3 separate regions of the Homo sapiens genome follow, and all the other regions are linked to region 3. Evidence: promoter capture Hi-C in 16 types of primary human blood cells and fetal thymus (Javierre and others, 2016). All regions are on one chromosome and are shown on one strand. Each heading gives the region's core, a stretch centred on a gene start or on the middle of the fragment in contact. The rest is flanking DNA. Distances are from core to core; before and after follow the strand shown.

What was found. The method cuts DNA at HindIII sites, captures the fragments that hold promoters and counts their contacts. A CHiCAGO score of 5 or more calls a contact.
Region 1: a fragment that was not itself captured here is called in contact with the fragment with the promoter of GALNT16 in region 3 in 2 of 17 cell types (M1 macrophages and M0 macrophages); the score reaches 5.6 in M1 macrophages.
Region 2: a fragment that was not itself captured here is called in contact with the fragment with the promoter of GALNT16 in region 3 in 3 of 17 cell types (total CD8 T cells, naive B cells and naive CD8 T cells); the score reaches 6.9 in total CD8 T cells.

Annotation. Positions count from the first base shown.
Region 1 is chr14:69,524,399-69,529,202 of GRCh38, reverse strand. PLEKHD1 (pleckstrin homology and coiled-coil domain containing D1) reads right to left here. Exons shown (of 13, transcript NM_001161498.2): 9 at 3,081-3,259; 10 at 2,374-2,506; 11 at 1,871-2,015; 12 at 1,271-1,420; 13 at 1-953. The coding sequence ends at 784. Among named protein-coding and RNA genes, the nearest start is that of PLEKHD1, 42 kb to the right of the region's middle. The HindIII fragment of the contact is 3,070 bases long and covers 1,062-4,131 here.
Region 2 is chr14:69,568,093-69,572,679 of GRCh38, reverse strand. CCDC177 (coiled-coil domain containing 177) reads left to right here. Exons shown (of 2, transcript NM_001271507.2): 2 at 1-2,881. The coding sequence ends at 1,181. Among named protein-coding and RNA genes, the nearest start is that of CCDC177, 4.5 kb to the left of the region's middle. The HindIII fragment of the contact is 521 bases long and covers 1,474-1,994 here.
Region 3 is chr14:69,257,533-69,262,478 of GRCh38, reverse strand. It overlaps GALNT16 (polypeptide N-acetylgalactosaminyltransferase 16), which reads right to left and starts at 2,321. Exons shown (of 15, transcript NM_001168368.2): 1 at 2,012-2,321. The coding sequence starts at 2,188. It overlaps GALNT16-AS1 (GALNT16 and EXD2 antisense RNA 1), which reads left to right and starts at 1,952. Exons shown (of 4, transcript NR_184249.1): 1 at 1,952-2,189. RefSeq lists a silencer at 1,216-1,275. The HindIII fragment of the contact is 12,811 bases long and covers 1-4,946 here.

The sequences.
Region 1 (4,804 bases), core at 1,347-3,846, 270 kb before region 3:
CAGCTCCCAGCCAGGGCCCTAGGTACACAGGCAGGAGGGACTGGTGCCATCATTCTACCCTTGCAGGGTGCCAAGGCTGTGAGTGAGCTCACCAGAGGAGGAGGGGAATCAGTGGGTGGCCCCACAGCCAGGGCCTGAGCTCAGGAAAAGCGGCACTGTGGCGGGTGTGTGGTATGTCAGGAGCCCAGAAGCTGCTGTCCTAGGCCCCTTTCCTCCTGCACAGCATGATGTGGTGTAAATGAGGGGTCTCAGCTGAGGGACATTTTGCTGAGTGTCAGAAGCAAAGGGAGGGTTAGGAAACCCTGGGGAAAAGGGAATGTCAAGGTAGGGAGGCAAGGCCTTTCTACATGAGGACCACGGGCAGGGCAGCAGAGTCCCAGAGAGGTCCAGTGGGCACCAGGGAGGGCTGCCATCTTCCTCAGTGGGGCAGACCCTGCCTGATGGCACAGTGGTAGACAGCACCTCCCCACCCCACTCCCTAACCGACACAAATCTCCACATACAACCAGGTCCTGTCCTCACCTCACCATGACAACCAGCACCCAGCTCAGGCCTGCATGGCCCTGGTGTGGACCCAAAGGTGGGGTGTGGGGTGAGGATGAGGAAGGCAGCGTCCATGTCCTTTGAGGGCAAGGCTGGCCCCCAAGTGGAGCTCCGGCCCAGAGGAGACATAGGCTCCAGACCAGAGAGGCCAGGAGCTGGTAGAGTGAGGCCTCCCTCTGCCACCCCTTCCCCTCCCCCGCCCATCCAGGGGAGACTTGGGAAGCAGGGGAGGAGCGCCCATCACTTTCCACCCCGGGAGAGTGCCGAGGGGGCTCCAGGCTGGGTGGCCATGATGTGGTAGATGGATTCCCGGAAGCGCTGGTCCCTGCTGAGCCGCTTGGCCACCTCCTTTAGCTCCTCCATGTTGTTGGCATCCAGCTGGGAGGTCATGAAGGACTGGGACGGCTTCACTGGGGAAACAGGAGCCCAACAGCCCTGTGAACAGTGCTCCCTCCACGAAGGCCTGGCCCTGTCCCCAGCCTCATGCCACCCCCTCACTCCTTTATGTGTGCCAAGCTTCTTCCAGCCCCTTCCCACACACACGGGCTTCCATATCCTTTGAGAAACCCAGGGCCCTGAGAATTCACCCGTTTGCCCAAGGATGGTGGGGCCAGGTTCAAGGCCACACTCTCCAGCCTCAGAGCTGGGCCAACCCTTCTGGCTCCCCATGTTGCCCTCTTCCTGCCTTGTCACCATCCCACCAGGGCACGCAGACAGCCACACTCACTGTCATTCCAGGAGGTGCTGGACCGGCGTCGGTGGAAGCGGCAGCTCTTGATGCGGCGAGTGGCTGCCTTATGGATGTACACGGAGTTCTTCATGATCACAGGCATCTTGGCCTCCAGCTCGGCATTCCGGATGCACTCCTCAAAGAACCCTGTGGCGGCAGGGCCAGGAAGGGTGGGGTTCCGACTGCATCCTTACCCCCAGCCAGTCCCTCCCTTCCCAAGGATCCTGGTGAGATTGAGTGGGAAATATTTTGACCCCGTCCCTCGAGATTCCAGAGCCACCTGCTGAAGGGGACTTTCTTTGCCTTTCAAACCACAATCTGCAGCCATCTCAGGGCACGTCTGCTGAGAACAGAGCTCTGAGCTTTTGATAAATGGAAGAAGCTCCTGGCTTTCCTCTCACCACAGATCCAACAGCCACAAGAAAGCAGTGGTGCTGAGATGCCTGCAGGCAGGTAACTGGAGAAGAAACCCTTCAATATCCAGGGAGCACCTCATGCCTAGCAGACCCTGTGTGGGTTTCCTGGCTCTACAGGGCCGGGATCCCATCTGGGGCTGAGTGCCAAAGCTGGGGGCCAGGGCCTAGAGGCAGGGCTTACTTTTCAGATGGCTCACATCAGCCCGCATCCTCTCCTCCTTCTCCTTATTCCGCACCTTGGAATTCAGCCCCTGTTCCAGGCTTCGCAAGGCCCCTTCTGCCTCCCGGAGACGCCTCTCCAGGTCCATGCGGACCTTCACCTCAGCCTGAGGTTGAGGAGAGGGAAATGAGAAGGAAGTCAGGTCCTGGAAGTAGCTGCCATCTTCCCTGGAAGCCTTCCTTGGTCACCCCTGGCTCAATGGGCGTGGATGGGAGTTATCACATCCCGCTTCTGAGTCTTACCCTTTGAACCAGATGGACTGGACTTGGCACCTGCACCCAGCAGGTGTCTGTCAATGATGCAGCAGACTTGCTGCTTCCCCTCGTGGTGGCTCCATCCCCCATGCCTGGCTGTCTGGTCAGACTGACAGAGATAATTCATGCAGCTACCCGGTAAAGTGCAGGGGTGGAAGGGGAGTCTCCAGGGAAGGGGAAGGGCCCTGGCACCAGCAGGCCAGGTCGCACCTTGAGCTCCCGCTCAGCCTGCTGCTTCTCTGCCGTCAGCTCCTGCAGCGAGTTCTGCAGTGCCTGGGACTGGCTGGAGTAGAACTCACGCTCCTCCTCCAGGGCCCGTGAGCGCTCCTCGTTCTCCTTCATCCTGTAGGGACAGAAGAGGCACTTTCTCAATGCTCACTCGCCAAATGGGATTGCCAATGGATGGACAGCTCCTCTTAGAGACCTGGGCTGGAGAAACCTTGAATCCCAGGCTTTATGAGCCCCTGAACTTTGTGGGTCCAGGCACCCAGGGGATGAGATTGATGGTGTGGTCAGTGCTGGGAGCCCTAGGTTTAGAGTCAGAAGACTGGAGTCCTGGGTCCAGAGGTTGCTTGTTCTGTGACCTCAGAAAAGTCATACAACCCCCCTGAGGCTCCATTTCCTCATTTGTAAAAGGGGGCTTAAAAACTTGCCCAGCCTGTCACAAAGCATGGTGACAAGGACTTAATAAGTCTGCATGGTTCACACCATTGCACAAGATAATTATCAAGCCAGCTTTGGGTAGTGAAAGTTCTCTTCCCACTTTCCTGGTGGGAAAACAGAGTCCTAGGCAAAAGGAAGTGAGTGAGTCCTACTTGGTCAGTGCCAAGTAGAACCCAAGAGTCTGGATGTCCAGTTCGAGGAAAGTCCCCAGACCCCAAAGTCAATGGTGTCTTCAGGGGTCGGGGCTCCCTCACCGCTTCTCTGCCAGGAGCTTCTCCTCTAAGAGCTGCTGCATCTTCTCCTCGATCTGCCGGAGGTTGCTATGGAGGCCCCCACTGGGAGGGGGCTGCTCACTCTGATTGGCCAGTGTCTGCAGGTGGTTCTCGTTCTCCTCCAGCATTTCCAGGGTTTTCTTCTTCTCTATGGAGAGTTCCTGGCATGGAGGGAGGCAAGGAAAAGAAAAGCCCAATTTAGGTTCTCCATCGTGGCTGCCCTCACCTGCTTTTCCGTTTGGGGGAGTGACCCACTCCTCTCTCAGTCCTCTATGGCCGCTGAAATGTCTTCATTCTTCTCCAGAGCTAAAAGGCCCAGATCTCTCCCACAACAGGGCAAGGTTACTCCTCCATCAAGAGTCATAAAGGAACCCAAAGTGCCTTCCAGTGGAGACGGCACCTACTAGAACGGGGTCGCATGATCTTCTGGGGTCCTGGTTCCTCCAGGGGTGAATGAGGAGACATAGTGGGCTTACGTGAAAAACACCCAACAGGAACCAGCCCAAGAGCATATTTAGATGCTCTCACAAACAGAGCGAGGCTGCAGTGAGCTATGATTGCACCACTGCATCCCAGCCTTGGCAACACAGCTAGAACCTGTCCCCAAACCACCCCCCACCCCACCTCCAAAAAAAAGATGTCCTCTCCATTTATCAGACTGGGATCTTGTACTCAATGGCATTACACAGAAGCAGAGTTGAAAATATCCATGGGAACCACCTCCCATGATGTGAAACAGGGAAAGATAAATGAATAAAGGCCCCACAAGCTCCAAGGCTCCAGTCAGTCAAGGGAGACAAGAAACCTTTGCAGCCTTGAAGGTAATTCATGCGTACAGCACAGGTATGGGCCATACACCATATGTGCCAGGCCCACTTCAGGGGATGGGCTTGGAGAGACCATGAAGACACAGTCTACTGAAATTCATAGTTTGGAAAACACACCTAGCATGTTAAGTCCCATAAAATATGTACAAAATGCCACGGGAGCCAAGAGCTCAGAGTAGATACCTGCCTTGAAAATCAGAGAAGCTTGACTGAGGAGATATTTGAGCTGAGACTTAGAAGGGTGAATAGAAGTTCTCCAAGCAGAGAAAAGGTGGAAATGATACACTGTGTAGAAGGAACAGTGTGGGAAAAGGTATGGAGCATGAAAGAGCTTGCTTCCTTGGAGTACCTGAGCTCCGCGGTTTGGAGCAGGGGTTGGGAGTCTGTGCAGGGCATGGAGGAGCAGTGAAGGGAAGAGTGAGGCGAGAGGGAAGGGGAGACCAGGGCCAGAGTTTTCACTTGCTTGCCATGCTAAGGAGTTTGTACTTTGTCCTTGAGGCTTGTCACCTCCCCACCCCATCCCAGTTTCTGTGGTATCAGATGATGGTGACCTGGCAGTTGATTTCCCTTTACGTTCAATGTCACTCAGGAGCAGCTAAGCGAACAAGACACAAGAAGGAAGCGGTGGGTAGCTCCACTGCCCACCTTAACCAATCCTCTATCTGGTATAAAAATGTAAGCACCAGAGGTGGATTTCCTGAGGCCATGGTAATAGCAAGGACAAGCCTGAATTTGTCCTTTTAGGTCTGAGAACAGACACTTCTTGCTTTGGGCCTCATGCCTCGGCCAGAGTTTTCAATGATCCATAGAGAAGAGACCCTTTAGATCAGCACCCCTCCATGCCCATTTCTCTTACAGATCACCCCCTGGGGAAACACT
Region 2 (4,587 bases), core at 485-2,984, 310 kb before region 3:
CTCAGCACGTGGAGCGCATCGTGCGTCAAGTGCGTGCAGAGCGCGGCCTGCGCGGGGTGCCGGAGCGTGACCGGAAGATCGCGGCGCTCATGCTGGCGCGGCACCAGGAGGAGCTCCTGCTGCTGGAGCAACGCGCGGCTGCCCACGGCCAGTGGGAGCTGCAGCGCGTGCACGCCAAGCAGCGGCGGGAGCGCGAGGAGCGGGAGAAGCAGCGCGCCCTAGAGCAGGGCCGCCGAGCCTGGGCCGCGCAGGTGGAGGAGCGGCGAGGCCGCCGTGGCCGCGAAGAGCGCGAGGCGGCGCGGCGGCGGCAGCGGCAGTACGAGCGCAGCGAGGAGCGGCGGCGGGAGCTGGCCGAACGCCAGGGCCTCCTGCGGCGGGAGCGGGCGGAGCGCGCGGCCCGGGAGGATCGGCTGCGCAAGCTTCAGCAGGAGCAGAACCTGAAGCAACGTGAGGAAGGTCTACAGGAAGGGCGGGAGCGGGCTGAGCAGATCCGCAGGGAGCGCGCCCAGCGCGCGGCCCGCGCCAAGCAGCGGCAGGAGGGCCAGCTGCAGCGGGAGAAGCGGGAGCTGAGCCGGGCCGAGCGGGCGCGCCACGAGGCGCTGCTACAGGGTCGGACCCGGCAGCAGCGCCAGGAGCGAGAGGGCCTGCGGAGCTCGCTGGAAGCCAGTTTGGGCCGTGCGCAGGAGAACTACGAGCATTTGGTGGAGCAGCGCACCCGGGAGCTGCGGGAGCGGGCCCGGCGAGAGGAGCTGCAGGGTCGGCGGGCCAAGGAGGCGGCAGAGCGCAAAGAGCGGGAACATCAGGCGCACCTGGAGGCGCTGGCCCGGGCGGGGGAGCGACGGCTGCAGCACGCGACGCAGGTGGCCGAGGAAGCAGTGCAGCAGAAGGCGCGGCGCGTGGGCCAGAGCCGGCTGGAGAAGGAACGAGCCCAGCGCGCCAACAAGGAGAAGGTGGAGAGGGACGAAGACTGCCGCCGGCGAGAGCTACTCCAGGCCATCGGGCGCAAGCTGGAGCGCAGCGAGCAGCTGACGCGGGAACGGCGCAGTGCGCTGGAGAGCGCCCGCTCCACAGCCCGGGCTTCCTTCCACGTGCGTGAGAAGGTGCGCGAGGAGACCAACACGCGATCCTTCGACCGCATGGTGCGGGAGGCCCAGCTACACGCCAGCCTGGACCGCAAATAACTGCGGCTCTTTGCCAGCCAGATTGGCACGCACAGCCCCCTGGGGCCTCCCTCAACCACTGACCATCGTGGGAGTCCCCGCTCGGTGCGCAGCGCGGTGGCCTCTCGAGGCTTCTGACCAATGAGGCAACAACAGTACAGACGTTTGGGACCTGTCAGCTGGCCCCCTTTGTTTTTAAAACTTACTTCATTTGGAGATGACAGCACAATCTGCCCACATCCACCCTTGATGGCTCCCGCACCGACCCTTGCCAAACTTCCCTATGTGTCTCTTGGGCTGGAATAGAGAAGCTTGGGGGAAAGGGGCTGATCAGGACTGGTGAGAGGGCCCCCCAGGAGAGGGCAGAGGTGGTTGTCCCCACCCCTTCTGCAGCAGTTGCCCCAGGCACCTGTTCGACATTGGTGTCTGAGACAGTGTTGCTACTGCTGAGGGAACATCACCCTGGCTCACCTCCATCTTTCAAAATATGGCAAGCTGCACAAATCGCGGAGGCCTCCCAGAGAAACACAGCTCCTCCAAGGTGTCAAGCCACGCCCAAATGATCCAAAAAGCAGTTGATTTTTTAGACCTTTTAATCGGCCACCTGAGCAAATTCTCACCAGTTTTGATAGTTTTCCAGTTTAGTCCCTTGGGTTTTCTAGTTAGACAGTCATCTGCAGATAATGTTCAATTTTTGTCCTTTGCCCCCTCCCTCATTCTACCAAGTGGCACAGGAAATTGGTTGGTTTGGTGATGCTGTTTAGCTTTAATAGAAACCCCCAGCCCCTGGAGGGGCTGGATTCCTTTGGGAGCAGTGTTCCATTCCATTAAGCTTCCTTGCAGGGTGGGGCCCACTCCATGAAGACAGCAGTCATGCCTTAAGAAGCAGAGCTACCTTACGTGCCTGCCCAGGCTGTTCCTGCCTAAATCTCCAGCCCTGCATGCCGTCTCAAGGGTGGGCCCCAGAGAGTTTGGAGTGTAGGATTCCCTCTGTGAAGGAATCATCTCTACTTCTCTGAGGACAATTAGGGTATCCTTGGCTGCTTTACTGTGGTGGCCGAAGAGCTGGAATTGCCTTTGTTGAGAGTTGTGTTCACTATCAGTGGTCGTGTACCTTCTCCACCTGCCCCCAGGAAAAAGAGTCTCCCCCTTAAATTTCCTGGTACCCCCTCACCTATGCCTGAAAGCATTTCACCCTCTCAATGCCTCACCTTTCCCATTCGCCAGATGGAACCATCAGTATTCCTCTCCTGGTACCGCAAGGCCTCCTGGATCCAAAGCACCATGTCAGTATTATTTGTTGGTCCTTTTTGTGCCTTTCTTGACCTGGAGGGGGAGGCAGGAGGATTGCTGTCAGCCTAGTTTCTTTCTGGGAATATGGCTCCCTAGTGTTGGAAAGGGCAGTGCCTCGTGGACAGATGGTCATTTAGCCTCTGGGGTGAAATACTTGCAATACCAGGTCACTCTGTGGTCCAAAAGGTCACATTCAGTTGTCATCAGGCAACTTTAACCCTTAGAGTGCTTCCCTTCCATTAAGCTGAAATTGCCCCACGGCCATATCCACCCATTGACTCTGCCTTCATCAAGGAAGGTGGGAAGTAAAACATCACTTTTTACATTAAACCAGGATCAGGAATAAAATGTTACCAAAAAAAAAAAATGGAAACAGGGTAGAGAACTGCTACATTAAACATATTTCATATATATTCTGCTGGGTAAAATTGTCCCTGAAATGGCTGATTATTACACACACATCCATACACACACACTTTGTCAACCCTTCACCCCCACTCCATCACATGCCAACAAATATAAAAGGTGTATTCTGTAGAAGGAAGCAGTGCTTGGGTGTTAGGCTCAAGATATCATGAAACAAGGAAAGGAGCTGTTTACCGAGGTTTTTTTATTGAATGGGTGAATTTTTTCCTTAAATTTTCTTCTTGTTGATAACCAGGTTGTCAGTGAGTTGAAATAATTGGTATTATCCATGAGTCAGAAGCATTTAACTAAAAGGTTAATGTGATTCTGGTTCTTACCTTGTGGTTCTTGAGTTGGTAAAGGGCTTTTGAAACCATAGAAAATTCCGCTTTAAAACTACTTACTTCCAAAGTATGTGCATTCATTGGAGGAGACAATCTGATTTTTCAGATAAGGCACTGAAAGGAACATAGGTGGTCTTGCCTGGACCTTTACCTAGTTTGTTTTCTGGCTTACTGAGTGACTTTGGGTTGATTGCTTCTCTGTGCCTTGGTTTCCCCAACCTGTAGAATGGGGGATCATGATTTCTGCCCTGTCTGTCACACAAGCACTGTGAGAATGAATCAGAATCCAGATGGGTTCCCCACTTCTACAACTCTGGAACCAAAGGTGCAATTGCTATAAACAGGTAGGGTCAGGTAACTGTACCGTGGTTACAGAGTGTGATGTACTGTCATGACCTGGTGCAGAAAGGAGTAGTCTTGAAAAGCACAAATTATGGTATCATGTGTTGCAAAGGCCCAGGCCTGAATCTCACCAAATTAGAAGTTTGCACTTAGAGAGATGCACTGTGTAAACGCAGAAACTTTTAGATTCTTCAAAAAACAAAAATCCACATAGCCAAGTAGAATTAAGGCAAAAACAGGGCTGGGTATGGTGGTACATGTCTGTAATCCCAACACTTTGGGAGCCCAAGGTAGGAGGATCACTTGCATCCAGGAGATCAAGACCAGCCCGGGCAACATAGTGAAACCCTGAAAAAAAAAAAAAGCAAAAACAGAAGCCAAACCTAGTGACAATAAAGAATGTTGCAGACCATCTGCTAGAGTATAGGCCGACCTCCATATTCTAGGATAAATATCCATATTGCTTTCTGAGGAGAAGCAATTTCCAGAATCGTTGTCGGGCCCCTTGTTTATATCCTTTTCTTGAAGCAATGCCAGAGAGAAGAGGTTGTTTCCTATTCTGAAATGCAGCAAGAGAATGTTGGAGGTGGAACAAGGATAGTGGGTGGAAAAATGGCTCCTGATGTATATTCTTTTGGGTGGAATTGTCCCTAAATGATATTCTAACAAGTGCCCAGAATTTTCTTTAGAGCACCATGGTGGATGTGTTCTTACCACCCAGGGGATTGCAGCCTTGAAGTGACCACAGACCTTCACATTTGTCCTCTTGGAGCATCCCCTTGTTCTACAAAACAGAGACTGTGAAATGAAGTGAGGAGGTATGGGAGGCATTGGAAGAAGCTTAGGTTTAGTTCATTACCATGGAAGCAAGAAGGACAAAACGATTTCAGATTAAATCATCAGTGAAGCTTAGTTTAGTGTCCTGCTCAGGCAGTGACCCAATGCCTACAACCCTATCTAGACAGGATGGTGGAAGATTCTTTTTGGAAGCATGCAGACTGTGACTCTCCAATGAGGGTAGTAACCGGGATTTGCTAAAGGCA
Region 3 (4,946 bases), core at 1,072-3,571:
AGCAGGGACAAGAGGATGTTTACTGGTGATTCTCATGACCTCCAATTCCCACCCCTCAAAATGAGTGCTGAATCCTTCCAGCAGGTCCCCTACACCATTCTGGGACTCTTGAGAAATGTGAGCGGCCCTCCCAGTGCATCTTACAGGACTCTGGAAGGAGCAGGAGAGAGGTGCATGGGCCAGGTCAGGGTTCAGGTTCCGGGTTCCAAAGCAGAGGCTCTGAGCAGCAGTCTCCTGTGCTCTCTTCCCTCCTCTCCTCCCTGCCCAGCCTCTTTCTCCGCCCCTTCCAACTCAGACCCTCTTCTCATCGCCTCACCAGAAAGAGGGACAGAGCATCTGGCCAGCCTGCCTTGCCTGAGACTAGGGCTCTTCCTGCCACTGAGTATGAATGTGGCAGCCTGGGCTCCTGGAGAGGAAGCTCCCTGGGGTCTGGAGGCCACTGCTGGTTTGGACAGTTCCAGCTCCAACCTGTCCCTCTGCTCAGATCACAACACTCTGGGGCCTCAGCACAGGAGGCTTTTCCTTATCAGTTTTCTGTCCAAAGGGCGACAAGTGCTTTGGAAACAGTGTCCTGGGAGAACAGCCCAGAAGGGAACAGTGCACCTAATCAGGCTTGCCCCCAGAGAGTTCACCCAGACTGGTATCTAGGACAAAACCCACAACCTCACCCCCCCGCCCCAGGTCTCCTCAGGCAAAGCCCTGAAATAATGTTTCCTTTGCAGGGGACTCGGAATCTGGGGCAGGATGGGAATATGAGGGGACACTCTCCAATGAACTTCCCGATATTCCTGGGGTTCAGATCCGCGTCTGGATGCGTTTCTCGGATTCGGCTCCACACAAGCCTCAGCCCTCCGGACCTTGCACCTCCCCCGCGGATCTCCTCACCCCTCCACCCCCAGGCCCAGATCTTTCCTTGTCGGAATCGCCACGCTTCCTCACTCCTTTACCCCCGCCCCACTCGGCTCTCCTCTTCCTGGTCCTCATCCGGCCAGGCTGCCCCGCCCTGGTAGTTCCCGAGGGTCGTCCGAGGCTCTCGTCCACCAACCGCCCCCGTCTGGAAGAATGCGCCCGCTCGAGCGCACTCTCGGCGGGTGCCAAAGCCTCCCGCCTCAACAGGTGCCCCTGCCTGGCCACGCACAGCTCTGTCACCTGGGGCTCGGACGGAGACGGCGACAGGATCGCCCCCTGCAGGGCGGCTGCGGCTCCGCACGCCCCCGCCCGGGTCCCCAGAGCGCCAAGGGCCCCCGCAGCCCCGCCGCCGCCCCCGCTGTGCCACACTGCCTTTGTTTCCCTGCCCGCTTAGATGTCGCGAGGCTGACTTCATGCAAGGGTATCGCCAAGTTCGGGCGCTGACACTGCCCACCTACCCGTGGTGGCGGACCCTAAGGTTGGGAGTGAGAGACGCGTACAGTGCGAGACCTCTCCTCAACCCAGAGAACTCCGGGGAAGCTGGGTGTCCGCGCCGAAGAAGCGGGTTCAAGTTGACCCGGCTCAGAAGGGGGTTCGAAGCCAGGCGCAGCGCCTAGAGAGCCTTCCCCTACCCACGCCCCCACCCGATGTCCTCTGCCCCCAGAAGGCTGGAGAGGGGCTGCGCACTGCCACCTACGCGCTCGGCTGCGAGTGGTTCCCACCGCCCGCTCGCCGCGCGCTGGGCCCGGCAGCCTTCCGGGGCACACGAGGCTCCCGCAGCCCCCAGACTCCCGGCCCCGGCAGCGCAGAGCCGGGAGAGCCGCCACGTTCCCAGCCGCGCGCGCACGCCGGGCCCACCAAACTTGCAGCACTTTCTCCCAGCCCCCACCCTCTGTCACCCTCCCTTAGTCGGTGCGCCCCAGCCCCGCCGCCCGGCAGAGGTTGCCATAACAACGGGCAGGAATGCTCCAACATATACAAAGCCGGCCCGGCGCAGCGGGCACTCAGCCCTGGCCGGGCCCCGCGCCCTCGGCCGCCGCGCAGGGTCTGGACGCGCGCCGCGGCTCCCTAGCCGGCCGGCCGACGCTCGGGGCGTACTCACAATGAGCGGGATGGTGCGGTCCTCGCGGAGCTGCTCCGACCTCCTGCCTGCCCTCTGCGCGCCCCGGCCGCCGGAGGATGCTGCGTGGGCTCGGTTGTCCTGCCATAAGTAGTAGAAAGTGCCCAGGATCCAGGCTACGGTCAGGATGGCGATGGCATTGGCGCGGATCTTCCTCATGGTGGGCAGACGGGCGCCCCAGGTGGGGGACTGGGCCGGCGTGCTCTCGGGGCCGGGGCGGGGGCGCTCGCAGCCCCAGCTGTTTGTTTTCGCTCGCGCCTAGCTGCTCAGTCCTGCAGAGCAGAAAAAGGAGAGAGGTGGGGGGGCGGGGGGGTGATAGGGAGAGACAGGATCGCGGAGCGATCCTCACGGTCCTAATGCCCTTCAGCCCCGAGCGCGCGCGTCCCCCGGGCGCCCATTCATTCGTGCGCAGGGCCGGCCCCGCGCTCCAGCCGCCGCCGGCTGACCCACCAGGCCACTGCGCACTGGGAGAGAAGCGCGCCGAGTGGGAAGCGGCGCGGGCCTTCCTCCCGCGCCCGGGAACCCGGCGAGACAGACGCCCGCGGCGGAATGGCGACTGGCCAAAGCCAGCCTCGGCTCCCACCGCTAGGTGACCGAACGCCCGGCAGCTGCCCCCGCGCGGCCCTGGTCGGTCCTGCCGACCCACACCCACCCCCGGACCGAGCGGCCTTGAGTCACCGACTGGAGACGCGCGACCCCCGACCTGGGCCCGCGCCGCGAGCTGCAGTTCCGGGCTGCGCTCTGGCGCGGGATTCAAGGTGTGTTCGGCGAGTCCTTGTGTAGGGGCGGCTGGGCGGGGGAGAGTCCTGAGTTTGTACTGGAATCTGCAGCTGAGATTAGCCAGACCGGGCCCGCCCAGAGGAGGGATTGGAAGCTGGTGCACTTGACATTCGAAGAGCGCGAAGGGGAAACGACGCTGCCTCACACCCAGTGCTAGGAGAGTGCGGGTACGGCCCTTCCACATTTTTCGCTGGCCTGGGGCTCCCAGATTTCACGATGCTTCCCTCTATCCCGCCTCATTGACCCCTGGACAACCCTGAAATATCATCGTCAGCATTATTTCATCGGAAAGAAGGGCAGCAAGAGAGGCCGGATGATTCTCCCAAGGCCACACAGCTAATTAGTGGGCAGAGCCCAGTCTAGAAGCCATCTCACCATCTGACACCTTTCGACAAAGTGCAAAACGCGGTGGTGAGAGACGAGGACACAGACATTAAGATTCCGCTCCAGCCCTAGAGGCACTGAGAATCAGAACGTGAACTACTCTTCACTCCAGGCAGAAAGCAAGAGGCTTGGATGAGTTTTAGGAAACCAGCACAGTGTCGGGCACAGAGCGCTCAATGAATAGATGTGTAACAACAAAGTAGGGATCCAACAGAGGAAGAAATAATTTATTGTAAGGTGGCCTTTGGGAAAGCTCTCAGAAAGGTGGATGAATCACTTAAGAGGTAAGGAAGGGGGAGGTGAGGACAGGGGAGAGACTGCAGAAATAGGCCTTGCAAAAATCCAGAGGATGGAAGAGCTTGATGTGTTCAAGAGAGAGAGCTGCCAGGCGTTGCAGGGGGCCTAGGATTTGATAGGAGTTGAGGTTGGCCAGGCTGGGTGAGTCTGAACTCAGGAGGTCCTTGAATGCCGGGGCAGAGTTGTTGAGGAGTCTGCTTCCTGCTGGCACTGCTGGACACCATGGCTACTCCGAAGACCCACATAGGGTCCAGCCTCTAAATGAAGCCATCTGGGGAATCAGGCAAACTGAAGTCACAGCATCATGCCCCCCCACAAGCATCCCATGAGCACCACCCTGACAGATAGAAGTAAAATCAGGTGGCTTTTCTCCATTTCTCCAGCACTCGAGACTGAACCGCACATATAATAGATGCTCAATACATTTCTGTTGAGGTGAAGAAACCCTAGTTGGGTTTTTGCTGAGGAAAACCCAGGGTCATTACTGCAATACGATATCCTCACTCAGAAGACTAATTACGATGACACTTAGACAAGTCCAAAAGTGACCCACGCAGGAATGGGACCTAGAAAGAAGAGAATGCACAAAGAGGGCCTCACAAAGGGTCTACACAAGTAGCAGGGAATTTCAGGCATAAGGTGTGGCAGTCACAACAGGGGCAGGAGTCTGGAGACGCCAGATGCTCTCCCAGGTCTCTCTCCCCTGGGGAGTTTAATAAGACTGCGCCAGGGGCCAGGGCTTGTTTGCATAGATGGAGAAAACCACTGCCAAACCTCCATCTGGTTTCCGCAGGAATCATGGGGCAGATCCAGCGGTGCCATTTGTGGGAGGCCAGGAAAGACCTTGCTCCTTGGGAATCAGGCTCCACAGGCCTCTCAGGTCAACCAAGAAAATGTAAGGGAACTACCCTCCTGGTGCCCCCATTTTCACACATCTCTCAGGTGAGCCAGGTGAAAACTTGGGGAGTAGCCCTGTTGTCATAGGCTGCTCCCCTCATCCCAGCCTGGTCTGTGCATCTCTAGTTGCCTTTGGATGTGGGATTCGAAGACATCACATCACCTATCACCTCCTGGTAAAAGGCTCCAAACTCACCCCTCGGCACGGGGATGAAGCTGGACCATGCTGACTGAAACCAGACAGTTGGGGCTTCTGGTGACTCCAAAAGGAAGGCTCCATGGGGGGAAGGAGGGAGGGGTGGGATGGGCTGGAATGTGGCAGGGTTTCTCACATCTCACCACTTACTGCCCAGGGCTCAGTGGTGAGGATGCTATATATCTGCCCCAAATGGTCACTCCTGGTAGTTCTGTCCCTGAGAGAAGGTTTGCTTGGCCCCCACCACCAGAAAGACTGCACAGAAGTGAAGCGTAGCCTCTCTAGATGACTTCACCACAGTTGTTCCTTAGTTGGGCACTTCCCTGGGGGATGATGGGGGTGGGGTGGGGGTAAGACAGCAAG